Linked DNA regions of Homo sapiens: region 1 is linked to region 2. Evidence: promoter capture Hi-C in 16 types of primary human blood cells and fetal thymus (Javierre and others, 2016). All regions are on one chromosome and are shown on one strand. Each heading gives the region's core, a stretch centred on a gene start or on the middle of the fragment in contact. The rest is flanking DNA. Distances are from core to core; before and after follow the strand shown. Region 1 overlaps ERBB4 (erb-b2 receptor tyrosine kinase 4). Region 2 holds the start of ERBB4 (erb-b2 receptor tyrosine kinase 4).

Region 1 (4,524 bases), core at 1,921-4,420, 780 kb before region 2:
CTCTGCTTTCACAATGCATTATTCATCATGGAAGCTGGCAAACGTGACTAAGTTCATCTTTTATGCTTGTCCAGCGGATGTTACTAAAAATGTAGCCTTTGCATTCCTTTGTAGGAACTAGAGTCCATGAACTGCATTTATGTTTTTAAGAGTCACAAATTCATCTAGAAGTTGTGCTTATTTGTGTGACCACCTGCATGTGGGATTCACTGTCTACCTCTGTAATGCTTTCTGCAAGTAATATGCCAGGACAGTTGAAGAGTTACAAAATATGAAGTCATTGGCAACTATAAAAGATCATATCCTCAAACTGCCTCTAGCTAAAGGCAACGCAGTTACATCCCTGGATTTTTCTTTTACTCCTTTTAAAAACTGGCAGGTTTGACCTCTTAAAACTACTTTTACTAGAGAAAGAAGTGAGAGAATAATACCTTTTTTATGACCATATAATTCAAAATAGGAAAGTAGAACATTGATTGAAAGTCTATGCTAAACCAGTCCCTATTCTTGGTGTGTGTGTGGGTTCAGGGAGGGGGGATAAAAAGACGAATGTCACTACCCTGTCCTCAAGGAGGTTTTAGGGTCCAGGAAATAGGCAGAGGAATAGGCAAGTAACTATTATGACCATAATATTTGCGAAAATATAGGTATGTATAAAGTGGAGAGAAAGGATTGCAGAAGGCTCTGCAGTTTAGTTTTGCTTGAACAATCTAGTTTGTCCAGCAGTAAAGGGAAGGGAAGGAGAATTTCAGGCTGAATAGCTAGCCTAAGCAATAACACAGAGGCATGGATGAGCACAACTGTTTGGGGCCATAATGAGTAGTTTAGGGTTTTTTGAGCATAGTTTGCATGAGTAATAGCAGCTGGAGCGTGAGCTTACAAAGTATCACGAAAGCCTTCTAAACAGTTTGGAGTTTACTCTGTGTGTGTATTATGGAGTTTAATGGGTATTATGGAGTTGGCCAAGGTCCTTGAACATTAAAATGATATAGTTTGACCTGTAGGGTAGAAAATGGTTTTGAGTCATGTTTCCCAAAAGTTAGTTTTGACACTTTAGTAGCTTGTGCAAGATGCTGATTTTATAGTCTGGTGAGGTACAGGAATCCCTAGTTTTAAAAAGCACTTCCAGAGATTCTGAGGTTGACGGTTCCAAAATGACAAAAGTATATATAAGATAATGGCTTGGCATATAATTCCAAACTGTTAGTATCATAGACATATTTTGAGACAATGCTTTAGTATTAGAGCTGATCAGATGCTTGGTAACCAAACTTTCAGACAAGCAGTGTAAAAATCTAGCAGTCTCTCATGTCTTAGAGTTTATTCTTTGATTTGTGGACACATTCCCATCAAATTGCATCTTTCTCCAGCAGTACTAAAATATACATATAGCTTTGTTTTTCACATTTAACTTACTGTAAACCACTCATATAATAGTAAAGTCTCAATATGATTTGAGCAAATGCTACATCAGTAGGAATTAATGGCATTACCATGATGTGGAATTGCTCTTCTTTATGAGATGTTAATACTTCCACTTGTTCTTATCTGACAATTCTCATTGTCATCTGTTTATTTGTATTCACTCTTCTGTTATGTGAGTTGACTTTACTTTTTATTCCAGTCTCAATTCAATTTTCCTATCCTGCCTCTTAATTTGAAAACTAAGTATAAAATGGAAACTTTAACTTTCATACATCTTGATACAAAAAGATGGGCAGGTATTCTTCCTTGCTAAAAAATATGAAGTTAAAAATGAAACTAAAAACATTTATCGTTGGGATTTTTCATCTTACAGTATATTACATCAGGAGTTATGAGGTCAAAATATATTAGGCAATTACTGTACAGGAAAAACAAATAAGTACGGTTAACCTTGCTAAACTTGATGTTTTTGTAAGCATCATCATGATATTCATTCAAGCAATTTATAGTCAAAATTTTAGAACAGCATATATACTCATGTGATCAAGATTAATTTCAAACAGAAGTGTAAAATGCACAGAAGTGTCTGCAGCGCTTCCATCTACCCCTCCCTCAGGGGCTCAACTCCCTCCTGCTAATTTGTGACTGCCAGTGCACAAAGTATCTTCTCCAGCATCACCTTAGACAGGATATCAGACAGATAGCTAATGGACAGGCCAGTTAATCTGGCACAAAAGTTGTGCAAAGGCTTGAAGATTCTAAAGTTACTTTGCAAATTTGTATTTTTCCTGAGGCCTTCTGGAAACATAGATCAATTATGAGGGGACATGACAGTGGTAGAAACCACAGCTACAAATAAAAGGCTGGGCAGGCTGGGGTGGGTAGACCTATGAGAGTGCCATTTTTCAAAATCTCTTAACTCATAAATGGAAGCAACCAGCTACTCCATTTGCAGGCTGAATATAGAACTGTTTCTACATATAGATTTAAGGAGAACAGATAGAGCAACACCATTTTACAGTTAAAAGAAAAATTGATGATAATCCATTTAGATCTAAGATTGTCGATTATCACTTACACGTACAAGCTCATGTGATTGTAAGAAGGACTAACAGTTAGAAATAACCTAATACATATTATGCCAAAAATGAAATAAACATGAACATACTAAATGCAATCTATTTCCCACCGAATGGAAAGATCTGCTCAATGCTGTCTATGATATTACTGTTCTGTATATTCTATGCTCCTTCCAACATGCCTTCAGAATGCTTTAGGCTACTGAAACCAATGGAAATGAACTTCAAAGAAAATCACATTAAAAGGTCTTAATGCTTTTTGGAAAAGTCATATGTTAATAACAAAATGTCTCAAAATAATAAAACATGAAATTTTTCCTAAAAGACTAAAAGCTTTTATATATGATACTGTCATATATTTGTTCCAAACCAGGCACTTTTAAAGCATTAATTATCACTGTTTATAGCTGCTAGCACAAAGTAGAATACAGAAATTCCACCTACTGTGGAACAGAATTAGTTCCAATCAATGTCAAATGTATTTCTGAGCATATAAATAAGGGGTCTGAACTAACTGAAAAACCTTACCTGAAAACATAAAGAATATACTGAGATGTGTCAGCTTTTTGAAACCAATAACAACAATAATAATGAGCACTTACTATGAGCTTGCCAGAGCCACCAAGGGTGTCCAGAAGCATCTTTCAGATGTACTCAATCTACATGATAACCCTTGGAGGTGTGCAGTGCACAACCTGTTCAGCTATATGTAGTGGTGGGCCTTCCAAGGATGTTCTAAGCATTTTGGATATATTAACTCATTTAATCCTCATATAACCTGAATAGTCTGGCACTCTCCAAAATTTGTATGTCCAGTCTAGACTCTGTGATATGCAAACTTATACTTCCAACTGCTTACGAACCATCTCCACTTGTGCAATTAGCAGGCACTTGAAAATACACATGTTCAAAACTAAATCCATACTCTTCCCACTCCAATCATACAAATTATTCCTGTACAGTCTTCCCCATCTCAGTCAATAGCAGCTCAATTCTTTCAGAAGCTTCTGCCAAAAACTTTGGAGTCATCCTCAGCTCTGTTTTCTTTCGTCTTACAGCCCAGATCCAAATTCATGAACATATCTCGTTGTCTCTAACTTCAAAATCTGTCTAGTATCCAATCATTTCTCACCACCTGCACCATTATCATTGTAATACAAACCACTATCATCTATTGCTTGGATTAATGCAATAACCTCTTATCCGGTGTCCTAGCTTCCACCCTGGCCCCTTTACAATCTCTTCTCAATATATTAGCCAGAGCGATCTTTTTAGTCAGACCATGTCAAATCTCCTAAGTTGCCATGTGCCTCATAGTACATGCCAAAGTCCTTACCACAGTCTTCAAGGACCTACAACACGTAGCCCTCTCCTCCCTGCCTCAGTATTTTCCTCCGGGCTTACTCCTCTCACTGTCATCTCCTGCTGTTCCTAGGACATACAAGGTTCACTCCCACTTAGGGTTCTTCTGTTTCCTCTTCCTCTCCTCCTCTAAGAGCCTATAAAGCAGGTTTACCCACTAACTTGCTCTTGTTAGATGTCACCTCTCCATGACTCCCCTGACCCACTACATTTAAATAGCAAACATTCCAGATAGATTTACTAGATTTTATTTCTAATAGATGTTCAAATTGGAAATGCTGTATAATGCATAAAAACATGAAAGAAGAAAAAAATTCATAACCTTGAATTTTGGTGTTTTTCATTTTCTAGAGTGTGTGTGTGTGTGTGTGTGTGTGTGTGTGTGTTGCATTTTAACACGATGTAATACTTTATACAGTTTTGTCATCTGCTATTTTCAGTTTACATTTTTATCCTAAACATTTTGGATGATATTAAATAAATATAATTTTATTTCTTTGGTAGATTTACCTTCCGTCATATAGACATGCCAAAATTCAATTAACTATTTTGCCTTATGAGATATTTTCACTGGTACATGTAGGAGATAAATACATATTTTTTAATGAAAATACACATTAAGAAAATACCACTAATTTCACATCATATTTTTCAGCAG
Region 2 (4,941 bases), core at 772-3,271:
CAGACAGCCCCCAGTAGGTCGCCTCGTAGAAATTCCTCTCGGCTAAGCCTGCATGTCGGTCGCCAATGCCTTTGAATGGGTCAATGTGCATAATCAACCCATTGAGGGAAAATATGAAGGGACTCGAAGTGGGGAGGGAGATAAAAAGAGATGTATCTAAGAGGCCGCTTGGAATGTCAAGTCCGTGTTGGTGTGATTCCGGAGGTGGCTGGAGCGCGGGACCTGGTATGCGTGAAGAATTTCGGAGTAATTGGGAGGGTGCAAACGGCCAGCACAAACGCCTCACATGTGCCATTCGAAGGTCATTTTGAAAGACTCGATAATTGTAACTTGTTATTTACTAGGCAAAGGAGGCGGCGGCGGCGGCGGCGGCGGAGCGGGAAAACTACAGCTAGCCGTTTTCTTGGTGAGGTCAGAAGGACACCCTCCGGGGGCCTAAAGCGCTCCCTATCGCCACTCCCGGGGGCTTTATCACCTCAAGCTACTTCCCACGCTCCAGTCACCATCCCTGGATGGTTTCGGAAATCTCTCTGGCTCTCCAAAAGGCACCCCTTGGCCACGTCAAGACACCGGTCCTCCTCAGACCTCTCCCGTCCCACTTTCATCCCCAGGAAACTCTAGTGTCAGAAACTTTGAGCTCCATTGCACTGCAGGTGCTGTCATTAGTCCTGCAAGCCGTGGCGGGCCAGCCCCGCCGCGCTGCCTCTCGGGGTCAATTAGCCCTTTGCCTGCCCAGGTACCTGGGGCTCGAGCTCTCCAGCAAGCAGTGGCCGCGCACCCATCGCCGCTGCCGCTTTCGCCTCGGGTGGATCCAGTGACCCGCAGGCTCGGCAGCCTGGCCGGGCAGTAAACAGACAAGTTTGAAGGACTCCGGCCAATAGCAAGTTGAACTACAGGAAGAACTCTTCCCGGAGCCAAACACGGCAACCGACGGGAAGGCCGGGCTTCTGGCTCAAGTGTGCCAAGCCTTTTTTTTTTTTTTTAAGAGGTCAGGCAGGCGAGTAAGCGCCCCTCAAGTCAATGGGGAGAGGGCTCCGGGAAGCCGGCGGAAGAGGCCCAGAACTCCGGGCCCCGGACCGAGGCGCGCCCGCCTGCTGCACTCCGGCTGCCCGGGCTGGGCGCGAGTTGCGTCTGACGCCACAAGGCTCGGGCGACTGGGGGCGCAGCGGTCGCCAGCAGCACACACAGGTGCAAAGCCCGATTTTCTGAGCGCCGCTCTCCACCGCCCTTCGGGCTCGGCTCGGGAGAGGCCCAGCCAGCACCGCCCCAGGACCGCGGCCCCGGCGGTGCGGGTTCTGCCCTCGGGGACCCGACAGGGACAGAAGAGTCTCCTCTGACTGGGGATTTGGGTCTCCCATGTCCCGAACAACAGGCGCCACCAGAAGGGATCCCGCTTAGGCTCCCAAACAAAACGCTCGGGAAAGAAAAGCAGGGGGTTAAGGAGAGAAAAGAGGGACTCAGAGTGATTTTTCACGATAAATAAAGCAAACGCACACATACAGGGTAAGTTTCAAATGGAAAGAGGGGTGACCGAAAGCCCAGGGAAGAGGCCCCGGTCAAGCGGTCCCTCCACGCCTCCCGGGATGGGTGAAGAGGGCAGGGGAGCCACTCGAGGCAGCCCCGCCGGCGGCTGCAGGTTCGGCGACCGGAGTGCCAGAAGGAACCCACCTGACTGAGAATCGCTGGGCTGGACGGTCCCCGCCGCCACGAGAAGGCTCACCCAGACCCAAAGTCCTGTCGCCGGCTTCATTTTTTGGAAGTCTCAGATCCCGTGCTGACAATTACATGTCCAAATGGCATATCCCCCTTTCGGGCACGCGGAGGAGATCCCCCAGCCGGGCGCGCGTGGGGGTGCGAGGGGGGCGGGCGCGGCGCGCGCGGTGTGGCGACTCCCAGGGCGGGCGACCGAGTCCGCGCCCGCGGGTCCAGGGCCGGGGCCCGAGGAGGGGGCGAGTGTGAGCGCGTGTGTGCGCGTGTGGGAGTGTGCTCGGTGTGTGCGCTTGGCGCTCTGGGCCGGACTGTGCAGCTATTTCCCCGCGTGAGCCTTCGCTTGCTCGCTCCCTCCTCACTTTCTCTCTCTCTCACTGGTTGGTCAACAATAAAAAAGGAAGGGGGGCGAAAGGTTTCCAAAAAAAGTTGATTGCAAAGAGGCGGTAGGTTTCCGGCCTCTCCCCGCAGCCGGGCTATGTTCTGCTCCTTCTTCAGTTTCCTTGCACCTCCAGTCCAAATCGGGAGGGGAGCGGGGCGGGGGGAGCTTCTCGCTTCTCCCCGGATCCCGTCCTTCTTTTTCCTCTCAGCTTTCCTCACACTTGTCCGGCGGCTGCGGTAATTAAAGCTCCGAGCGTCATTTCCAGCGCTCCGCGGTCTCCAGCTGCAGCCCACAGAGAAATTAATAAGACTCCAGAAAAAAAAAAAAAAAAGGTGCGGGGGGCGGTGGGAATAAAACAACCCTCCACGCAACCAGGCCGGCTCTGCTCAGCCGCGCAAACCCCGCCCATGCTCTGACCCAACTAGCCACGCCCTTCCCCCCCCCTTCCAAAGGGAAATCTTATTGGCTCAGCCACTCCCCAAAATCCTGGGCCTCCGGAGTTGGGAAAACACCTGTCAGGGAAAGGGAGCCTCTTGGTGGGGGCAGGGGAAGCTGGATTTAAAGGGCTCACCGAAGCCATGCACTGAAGCACTCGTCTTCCCTCCCTGGCAGAGGCCTGGGACAGCTGGCCTGCTGAGTGGACGGACCATTGGAGGGCCGCTTACGGAAATTTTTTTTTTTTTTAAACAAGAAAGTCAGCATTTTCTCCGTTGCCCCACGGTGCTCATCTACAGACAAGACTTTCCCTAGAAATAAAAGTCAATGTTGCTTTCAGCAAAAAGCCTCCGCCCGCAGTACTCTGCCACTCATGGTCCACAATTAGAAAGTACTTTAAAAGTGTGTACAGCAAGTAACTGGTAGCCCCTGAGGATTAGGTAGTGGTAGGGGTATAATCACCGCCCCGCCTCCCGCCCCCAGTTATGCCATCTCTCCGATTACTCCCACATTTCTAAACTGACCAACATTGAGCCAAACTAAACTTTCACATTTATAAAGGCATATCCTTTGATTTTTAGATTTTATGTTTTTTTTTCACCTTTGGAGTTCATTCTTATTAAGCAGATTCTAGTCCAAAGCCACTGATTTGATCTTAAAGGGCTAGAAATTGTCCCCAGCCTGAAAGAATTTAAGGAGGCCACATCAGAACATAATTAACCTTAAATGATTCTGTTTATTCTACAGTAGACCCAGCTTTAGGCCCCTTCCTTGTCCTCACTCTGCACATTCATGGTCCCTAATCTGGAGGTCATTGCTAGTTACGAAAGTCTCTGACCTTTTCTGAATCTAAAATATTCTGGGACTGGGTCATTTCAATGTACATATCCCTTGCCTTTTACAGCTCTGAAACCGCACCCTGGCAAGGGCCAGAATCTGCTGGGGGTAGTTATTGGTTTGCTATTTGTACAGGCATTCTATGTATGAATCACTTTCCTTTTTTGGTTTTTCTAGAAGCAGCAAATATATAAATAAAAAGTATCAGGGGAGCTTAAAAATCAAACCACCCTGCCTTTCATTTGAGACCTTGATCTCCATTTCCCACTCTCTTATCTATAGCCCCATCCCTTAAGAATTTCCATGGAGCTGAGAACAGATAGGAGGTACAGATGCCTGAAGCCTGAAGCTTTCCCTTTCTTAGACCCACAGCAAATAACAGGCTCCATGAAGACGCCCAACAAGCTGAGCGTGCGGTTTTACCAGAAGCAGCCTAGGGCAGAGAGGAACTAAGCCTAGAGCAGATGACGGAGACTTGACCAGAATGGTACTGATTGCAGCAAAACTGTGCACACTGCTCTTTGGGATTATCTTTGTTTTCTTTTCTTTTCTTTTTTTTAATTACTCTTTCTCTCTGTTTTCTCTTCTTTCATTCAATCTCTTCTCATTCCCCTTGTCTTAAATCCTTTTGAAATTCTCAGGCACCTCTCTTCCATAAAAGCTACTTCTTTTCAAAACTTACTTTCTGTCCCTAGAATGACAATTTAAATGAGAAAAACATCTTCCTTTTGTAAAAGTTTAAGTCTCTGTAGTAAAAAAAAAAAAAAAGTCTGGTTTCTGATGGCAATTATGTTGCACGAAGTGAAGGAATGGGCCAGGTGTGGTGGCTCATGCTTGTAATTCTAGCATTTTGGGAGGCTGAAGTGGGAGGATCCCTTGAGGCCAGAAGTTCCAGACCAACCTGGGCAACATAGTGAGACCTCAACTCTACCTTTTTTTTTTTTTTTTTTTAATGAGCTGGGTATGGTGGTGCACACCTGTAGTCTTAGCTATTGGGAGGCTGAGATGGGATAGAATTGCTTGAGCCCAGGAGTTAATAGTTACAGTGAGCTATGATCATGCCACTGCACTCCAACCTGGGAGATAGAGCAAGACCCTATCTCTGAAAAAAAAAAAGAGAGAAAAAGAAAAAGAAAAAAAAGACAAAGTGAATAAATGAGTTGCATATTTTCGCTTAAATTGTAGGGCAAAAACTTCATGGCCTGAATATTTTGGATTTTTTTATAGTTGTGCCAATTATGTTAGTTTTTGTTCCCCTGTCAATTTTATAGCTTTTCTATAACAGAATATCTTCTATATGCCCTGCTCTCACCCATATCTTCTAGAATAATTCTTGACAAAGGAGGATTTTCCATTAATATTCATTGGTTTAAAAAAACACTTAGTATATATTTTTGTGGATATTAAACAGCCCATACAAGGATTCACCTATTACATTACCCAACATACCCACAGTTTCCCTCTAATTCTGTTTGTTCTGCCTTGATCCCCATTTTACTCATTCTAACATTGAAACAACAATTTTAGATATGTGGCCACAGATGGGTATCTGAACAGCAGCCTATAAAATGATTTGACAT

What was found. Contacts are between HindIII fragments. The CHiCAGO score rates a contact against its expected background, and 5 or more counts as called.
Region 1: a contact is called between a fragment that was not itself captured here and the fragment with the promoter of ERBB4 in region 2, in 2 of 17 cell types (fetal thymus and endothelial precursors). The highest score is 7.6, in fetal thymus.

What each region holds. Positions count from the first base shown.
Region 1 is chr2:211,755,589-211,760,112 of GRCh38, forward strand. All of the region lies in intron 4 of ERBB4 (erb-b2 receptor tyrosine kinase 4), which reads right to left. Among named protein-coding and RNA genes, the nearest start is that of MIR548F2, 670 kb to the right of the region's middle. The HindIII fragment of the contact is 671 bases long and covers 2,836-3,506 here.
Region 2 is chr2:212,536,781-212,541,721 of GRCh38, forward strand. ERBB4 (erb-b2 receptor tyrosine kinase 4) reads right to left here and starts at 2,022. Exons shown (of 28, transcript NM_005235.3): 1 at 1,669-2,022. The coding sequence starts at 1,750. RefSeq lists an enhancer at 553-1,053. The HindIII fragment of the contact is 6,206 bases long and covers 1-3,708 here.